2 separate regions of the Homo sapiens genome follow, and region 1 is linked to region 2. Evidence: promoter capture Hi-C in 16 types of primary human blood cells and fetal thymus (Javierre and others, 2016). All regions are on one chromosome and are shown on one strand. The core of a region is centred on a gene start or on the middle of the fragment in contact, and the rest is flanking DNA. Distances in the headings are between cores, read along the strand shown. Region 1 has its middle 21 kb from the start of TBRG4. Region 2 holds the start of TMED4 (transmembrane p24 trafficking protein 4).

Region 1 (4,059 bases), core at 763-3,262, 550 kb before region 2:
TTCTACAACCCCACCCCTGCTGGACTTTCCCTTCTCAGCCCAGGAGACCCAGGCCCCGGTCCCACATACCTTCCTCCCAGGCCCAGTGCCTACCTTTGTCCAGGCTCCCCTTCTCCTCTCCTCCCACCTCCCTGTCAACTGGCAAAGGGCCTTTCTAAAACGTGTCTGATCCTGCCTTGCCACCCTGACCCCTGGCCTGGCCCCCATGGCTCTCCATGGTCCAGCCCTGCCAGCCTCCCCAGCCCTCTCCCACCTCAGTGTTGGAGAAAATGACTCCCCAAAAAGACCCTGTTTCTCTGCACCTGCCAGGCTGCATGATATCTCAGCCTAGGACCATCCATGCTCCTTGCGTCCTTGTGTAGCGCTGGACTCTTCTGAAAGCTCGGGGGCGACTCCCTGTCAGAAGCCTCGCAGCTGGGGAGGAGCCTCTGTGGGTATGCACCTGGGGTCTGCATTTCATGTGCCTGTGCCCCTGGCCACACACAAGTGTTAGCAAATGGACCACAAGTGAACAAGCTGGACAGAGATGACACCATGAGGCCTTAGCCACCAGGGCTGCGCCCAGCATCCTCTGCAGCCCTGCTCTACCTGCTGTGGTCCAGGGCAGAAACAGAGCCAGTGGGACATCCAACCCACCTGCCAATGACCACAGGCCCATGAGGCCCACGGTTCTGCTAGGTACAAGAGAAGGGGCAGAGGGCCCACTGCAGCCTCACAGCCTTGCAGCCCTGGAGTAGGAGGTGGCAGTAGAGCTTTGAAAGATGGGAGGAGAGAACTTTCTAAGCAGGAGCTAGAGGCAGGAGGTGTAGCAACTGTATGCAGGGACATGACTTGGTGAGACAGGAGATGTAGGAAGGGTGTCAGAGCAGACAGACCATGATGAGGGCAGAGGGCTGAGGGCAGGACCTGCACCCAGGGTCGGGACCCCTATAATGAGAGTGAGACCTTCACCGAAGGGTCATGACCCCAATGACAAGGACAGGACATTCACCCAGGAGTCCTGACTCTGATGACAAGGGCTGAGGACCTGCACCAGGGTTGTGACCCTGATGACAAGCATGAGACCTTCACGTGATCAGAGGCCGTGACCCTGATTGCAAGGGCTGAAGGCAGGTCATGTACCCAGGGCCTGTGGCAGTCACCACAAGACCAGGACACACCTGTGGAATAGCATGGCCTCCTCCATCCCTGTCTTTACTCAGAGTTTTGGAGAAAATCCTGACCCAGCTGACCCCATAGGACCAGGAGTGGGGACAGTGTGCTCCAGATGACCACAACCCGGGGCCTCATTTCCCCATCAATCCTGGGCACACAGGAGCTGCTGGGGAGTGAAAGAGCCTGTGCATCTTAGAAGATGATAGGCTGGAGCCAGGCAAGCCAGGGGCCAACAACCTTCCCCTGGGCGCAAGAAGAACCCTACATTCCTTGCCTCTGGGGCTGGTGAGCCTGGAGGAATGGCATTCCTGGAACCCTCTGGCTTCTCCATTTGGCCCTGAGGGCTCTAAGGGCAGCTGTGCACCTAACCCGAACTCCTTGTCCTGCCAACACCTCTCACTCCTCCCCACTGCCCCCCACCAGCCACACAGAACATGTGTTCCCTCCTGGCCCCCCGGGCCCCAGCTCCCTCTGGTAGTTGGAATAGGTCTCATTATTACCCCATTTTACAAATGAGGAAGGAGTAAGCTGCTCAAGGTCACACAACTAGCACAGCCAAGACTAGATTCACACAGGCATGCACTCAAACGCTTCCTCTAGGCCACTTCATTCAAGGTCATGAAGGGCATGAATGCCACACCCCAGCATTTGGACTTCTCCCCCCAGGTAATGGGAAACCGCCGAAGAGTTTCAGATGGGGTTGTGATAGGATCATGCCCAGGCGTGAAAGGCCATGCTGGACAGAGCATTGACAACTAACTGGAAAGTGGGGAGGCCTGATATAGTCTTCCCTCCCTCCATCCCTGCCTCCTTCCCTCCCTCTCCCACCTCCTCCCTCCCTCCTCCCCTCTCTCCTTCCCTCCCTCCCTCCCTCTCCTCCTTCCTCCCTCCCTTCCTCCTTTTTTCCCTCCCTTCCTTCCCATTAAAGGCTAATGCCCCAGATGCTGCAAATGTGCTGTTCAACAAGATGAGAGAGGTCCTGTGCTCTGGAGGACAGTATACAGGACATCTCATGAACAAATCAGATCGTCTGTAGTCAGACAAGTGTGTTAAGGCGGTTGTTGCAGTGGCCGATGCCACAACAGCCCATCCCAGGGCAGCAGCCCAGAAGAGCTGACAGGAACACACTCAAGAGGGTTTTGGAGGGGCATCCACCAGTGGCCCAACCTCTTGGTAACTGATTAGATGGAGAAACACAAAAGGGAGGCCCTCCAAGTCTCTGGCTGTGAGGAACCATTCCCAGGGAAAGGAGATGTGGGAGGAGGCCAAGTTCTGCATTGGCAACAGTGGGCAGATGTGGGTCCAAGGCCTCTGAAGGCTGAACAGATGGGCGTGCTCCGGACCAGGCAGGGCCCTGGTTGTGCCTGGGAGCTGCTGCCAGGGATGCAGGGGTGGGGGCTAGGGCAGGGGCTCAGGGAGCGTGGGCGGATGCTTCCCACAGGATGAGGGGAGGGGAGAGCAGAGAAAGGGGATAGTGGCAGTGCCATAGACATTCCCTGAGGAGTGAGGACTATAGAGGGACAAGAAACAGGAGGGAGGCTGGGGGAGCTGGGGTGCAGGGGCAGTTTGAAGGAGGACTGCAGAGGCTGGACACCACTGAGAAGGAAAGACCCAGCCAACCTGAGCTCATGGAACTAGCAGTTACTTTACGCGTAGAATAATTTTATCTGTAGGAAAACAGCCCTGGGATTTCCAACTTCATATGAAAGTAGTAGGGGATTGGCCAGGCGTGGTGGCTCATGCCTGTAATCCCAGCACTTTGGGAGGCTGAGGCGAGTGGACCACCTGAGGTCAGGAGTTCAAGACCAGCCTGGCCAACATGGCAAAACCCCGTCTGTACTAAAAAATACAAAAATTAGCCGGGTGTGGTGGTGGGAGCCTGTAATCCCAGCTACTCGGGAGTCTGAGGCAGGGAGAATTGCTTGAACCCAGGAGGCAGAGGTTGCAGTGATCTGAGATTGCACCACTGCACTCCAAACCGGGTGACAGTGAGACTCTGTCTCAAAAAAAAAAGAAAGTAGTTGGGGTTGAAACAACACGATGTTTCAGATTTAAATTCCAACAACAACACAAACAATAGTAACATGAGTCCGACAAAATGTTGACAAGGTTAATCTAGACCATCGGTCTGTGAGTACCTATTGAACTATTATTTTTACTTTGCTGTATGTTTAAAATTATCATAATAAAAAGTAAAAATAAAAGCCTCCACCATCACCCATCGACCTATCTACCCAGTGGGCAGGATGAGCGTGTCTGCTCATGAGGTGTCGGGGACCAGCCCTGCATACCCAGGTGTGCCAGCAGGGACTGGGAATCGGGCCAGATGCTTGGAGGACACTTGGGCGGGGCCTCCCATGTGGGCGAAACATGGACCCTTTGGCCCAGCATCTCCGCCTCTACACTGGTACCCTGCAGAGCTCCCTGCCCACATGCCGAAAGCTGGGGTCTTCTGTGGTAGCAAAGAATCAGAAACAACCTAAATGTCCATCAATAGGAGACTAGCAATTATGTGGACACATCCATACCGAGGGGACTAAGCCGCCACTCAGAAGCAGGCGTGTGTCATTAAAACCCAGCCAAACTGAGCTCACAGAACTAGCTCAGTTTGGCTGAGCTAAATGGATGTTCCCCAAATGGAAAAAAAAAAAAAAAAAGGAGGGGGAGACAGTGTGCACATAAGTCGCATTTCTAAGGAGAACGGACCTGCACATCCATACTTGAACAGGCTTGATCATCTCTGAAGAGAGTAGGAAATCAGCCTCCAAAAATGAGAACGGGGGTCAGGGCCAAGTGGGAACGCCACTGCCCCCTGCCCTGCACCGTGTGTGTTGTCATCCTTGCATGCCTGTGGCTTTTCTTCCAGAAATAGTAGTAATGAAGGGAATAAAGGAGCGCAGAAAG
Region 2 (4,175 bases), core at 1,392-3,891:
GCCAGGGGCAAATCCAAGCTTTGTGGGGCCTTAAACTATACAAATTTCACAGTCCTCTTTAAGAAAAAGACACAAAATTATAAATGCGAAATTAGGTACGGGGGTCTATGCAAGGGAGGGCCTGAAGATTAAGCTTCATTAGTTTCACTGTAAACCTCCCCTGACTCTAGAATTAACTGTGATTACAGGACATACCAGGGACAAAAAACGTTAAATGACACCTGAAGATACAATCAGCAAAACCCAGAAAGTGGAAAATTCTGTTGGTCAAATGACCCAGTTTCTTCAATAAGTAAATGCCATGAATAACAAACAACAAAAAGAGAGGGGAAATTTATATATATAATATATATATAATATGTATAATATATATATATGTTGTTATATGGTTTGTTTTTTTTTTTTTGGACACGAGTCTCTCTCTCACCCAGGCTGGAGTGCAGTGGCATGATCTCGGCTCACTGCAACCTCTGCCTCCTGGGTTCAAGCGATTCTTCTGCCTCAGTCTCCCAAGTAGCTGGGACTACAGGTGAGCACCACCACACCCAGCTAATTTTTGTATTTTTGGTAGAGGTAGGGTTTCACCATATTGGCCAGGCTGGTCTCGAACTCCTGACCTCGTGATCTGCCCACCTTGGCCTCCCAAAGTGCTGGGATTACAGGTGTGAGCCACTGCGCCCGGCCCTGTTTTTGTTTGTTTTGAGATAGAATCTCACTCTGTTGCCTAGGCTGGAGTACAGTGGCATCATCTCAGCCCACTGCAACCTCCACCTCCCTGATTCTAGCAATTCTCCTGCCTCAGCCTCCCAAGTAGCTGAGATTACAGGTGTGCACCACCACACCTGGCTAATTTTTGTATTTTTAGTAGAAACAGGGTTTCACCATGTTGGCCAGGCTGGTCTCAAACTCCTGACCTCAAGTGATCCTTCCACCTCAGCCTCCCAAAGTGCTGGGATTACAGGCATGAGCCACTGTGCCCAGCCAAAATTGTTATATATTAAGAGACATATATTTGTATGAAATGCAGTAAGTAAACCTTGTTTGGACCCTAAATATCTAATGTACAAAATTTTTTAAGGCAATGGGGAAAATTAAACACATACTAGGTATTAAGTGATGTTAAATAATTTTTAAAATTTTGGTGGGTGTGATAATAGTATAAAGTCCTTATCTGTTAGAGACACACACTGACGTATTTATAGGTGAAATGACATGATGTCCAGGATTTGCTTTAATATACAGCACTTCAAAAAAAAATGCAGAAAGGGATACATGAAATGAGAAAGGCAGCAAACTGTTGTTGAAGTTGGATGATGAGTACAGCCCTCCGTTATTATCCAAGGGGGATAATTCCTGGACCCCTACGGATACCAAAATCCAGGTATGCTCAAGTTCTTTATGAAAGTTCATTGTAATTATTCTATTATATAAAAGTTTCGAAATTCTGTTGATAAAATGTATTTTTAGTAGAGACGGGGGTTTCACCTTGTTGGCCCAACTGGTCTCGAATTTCTAACCTCAGATGATCCACCAGCCTTGGCCGCCCAAAGTGTTAGCATTACAGGCGTGAGCCACCGCGCCCGCCTGGCCTTGATAAAAACAGTTTTAACCTTCCGTTGCTTCGATTCCATGCCCACTAAGTAACATTCCAGTTTGTTTTTCACTTTCAAAAGGATGTGCTGTAACTAGGGGATGTAAACAAGCTCCATGACCCTACTTATTCCAAGTTTTCGTTCCACTCTCCCACCTTTTTTTTAAGACAAGGTATCACCCTCGGTCGCCCAGGCTGGAGCGCGATCACTGCTTAATGCATCCTCGACCTCCTGGGTTCAAGCGATTCTCCTGCCTCAGCCTCCCAAGTAGCTGGGACTACATGCGCACACCACCACACCGGTTAATTTTTTGTAGAGACGGGGGTTTCACCATGTTGCCCAGGCTGGTCCCGAACTCCTGGGCTCAAGGGATCCGCCCGCCTCAGCCTCCCAGAGTGCTGGGATTACAGGTGCCAGCCACCGCGCCCGGCCCCAGCTTCTTAAAAGAATGATCCGAAACTATGGCAGCACTGGGCTTTTGGTCCCCACCCAAGAAATGCCCGCTCGCAGAGGCTCGCCGCGGCAGGCTCTCCCGACGTGACAGAGTGTGGGTCTGGATTCAGCCTCGGTTCTTACGAGTCAGATAGGTGGACACGCAAAGCAAAACATCACAGGGCTTTTTGTATTTAGCACAGAAAACACTTGTGAGCCCGAGCTGAGAACCCAAAAGGCACGCTTCAGGCCATCGTAGCCACCAAGCCTGGTCAGATTCCGTCCACCGTCTCCTTGGTGCTCCGAGACCCAAATCGCTGACTGGGGCCGAGGGCGGGCGTGACTGCGCAGGCGTGCCTCCCCTGCGAGATGCCGGAGGTAAGCTGCGGGGTAAGGGGCGAGAAATTAAGGGCGAACGTCATTGCGCATGCGCCCTCTACTCTCGTTGCGGGGGTAGGCGGGCGCCGGGCTGTGTGAGGGGGCGGGGCGCGGCAGTGTTCGGTACGGATGGAGTTGCAGGAGACGGCGAGTACATATCACTGCGCAGGCGTCCTCTTCCCCTAACTCTCAGGGTCGCTAGGGTGGCGCGCAGGCGCAGAGCGATGCGCAAATGTGCGCAGGCGCTTAGGGGCTGAGGCGCGATGGCAGGTGTCGGGGCTGGGCCTCTGCGGGCGATGGGGCGGCAGGCCCTGCTGCTTCTCGCGCTGTGCGCCACAGGCGCCCAGGGGCTCTACTTCCACATCGGCGAGACCGAGAAGCGCTGTTTCATCGAGGAAATCCCCGACGAGACCATGGTCATCGGTCAGGCGGGCTGAGGGTGGGGAGGCCCTTTGTACCCAGCTCAGCCCTCGGCGGCGCTCCCTCCTCCCGAGCCCAGCCGGGTCGCTGGCTCCCCCAGTACCTAGCCTGAGGGTGCCCCGAGGACGCCAGGCCCCCTGCCTAGAGCTCCGGGCCGCACGTCGGAGGGGGCCGGGCGGAGAGGCGGCCCACTAGGGCCGGTCGTGACTATGTGTCTGCCCCGCAGGCAACTATCGTACCCAGATGTGGGATAAGCAGAAGGAGGTCTTCCTGCCCTCGACCCCTGGCCTGGGCATGCACGTGGAAGTGAAGGACCCCGACGGCAAGGTAAGGCTGGCGTTGGCCCACGCAGCCGTTCTTCAGTGGAGCTCCCGTGGGGTGTAAAGCACTGCCTGGAGGAGGCCTCAAGGGACAGGAACTTGCACTTGGAGAGCCTGCGGTATAAAGGTGGGGCCTTCACTCACATATGTTGCAGGTGGTGCTGTCCCGGCAGTACGGCTCGGAGGGCCGCTTCACGTTCACCTCCCACACGCCCGGTGACCATCAAATCTGTCTGCACTCCAATTCTACCAGGATGGCTCTCTTCGCTGGTGGCAAACTGGTAAGAGGATTTTCTCTTTGGCTTCAGCTTAGAATCTCTCACTTGTTTCCAAATTTTGATTTATCAAGATTGTGAAACTTTGTAGCACAGTCAGAATTGGGGAGACAGATGTTGCCTTCTGCTCCACAGCCAGGGACAATAGTGGGTTCCATACCCTGGAACAGACAACTGGAGGCCCCACCACTCATACATTCCATGTTTCCTTGTAGCGGGTGCATCTCGACATCCAGGTTGGGGAGCATGCCAACAACTACCCTGAGATTGCTGCAAAAGATAAGCTGACGGAGCTACAGCTCCGCGCCCGCCAGTTGCTTGATCAGGTGGAACAGATTCAGAAGGAGCAGGATTACCAAAGGGCAAGTGCATATCTCCTTGTAATTTGAGAGGGCAGTTGACCTTTATACCCACTATACCTACTCAAGTTTCTGCTTGGGAGATCAGCTCTGCAGAGAATGGAATGAGAAGTATTGGTTTAGATAGGTTGTTTGTTTGTTGTTTTTGAGACGGAGTTTCACTCTTGTTGCCCATGCTGGAGTGCAATGCCATGATCTTGGCTCACTGCAACCTCCGCCTCCCCAGGTTCAAGCGATTCTCCTGCCTCAGCCTCCTGAGTAGCTGGGATTACAGGCATGCGCCACCATGCCTGGCTAATTTTGTACTTTTAGTAGAGACGGGGGTTTCTCCACGTTGGTCAGGCTGGTCTCGAACTCCCGACATCAAGTGATCCGCCCGCCTCAGCCTCCCAAAGTGCT

What was found. Contacts are between HindIII fragments. The CHiCAGO score rates a contact against its expected background, and 5 or more counts as called.
Region 1: a contact is called between a fragment that was not itself captured here and the fragment with the promoter of TMED4 in region 2, in 1 of 17 cell types (naive CD4 T cells). The highest score is 5.4, in naive CD4 T cells.

The regions. Positions count from the first base shown.
Region 1 is chr7:45,130,537-45,134,595 of GRCh38, reverse strand. No RefSeq gene overlaps it. Among named protein-coding and RNA genes, the nearest start is that of TBRG4, 21 kb to the right of the region's middle. RefSeq lists an enhancer at 275-775. The HindIII fragment of the contact is 5,554 bases long and covers 1-4,059 here.
Region 2 is chr7:44,580,697-44,584,871 of GRCh38, reverse strand. It overlaps TMED4 (transmembrane p24 trafficking protein 4), which reads left to right and starts at 2,641. Exons shown (of 5, transcript NM_182547.4): 1 at 2,641-2,825; 2 at 3,049-3,149; 3 at 3,298-3,423; 4 at 3,633-3,779. The coding sequence starts at 2,666. RefSeq lists an enhancer at 2,158-2,267 and silencers at 2,358-2,517, 2,918-3,017. The HindIII fragment of the contact is 9,471 bases long and covers 136-4,175 here.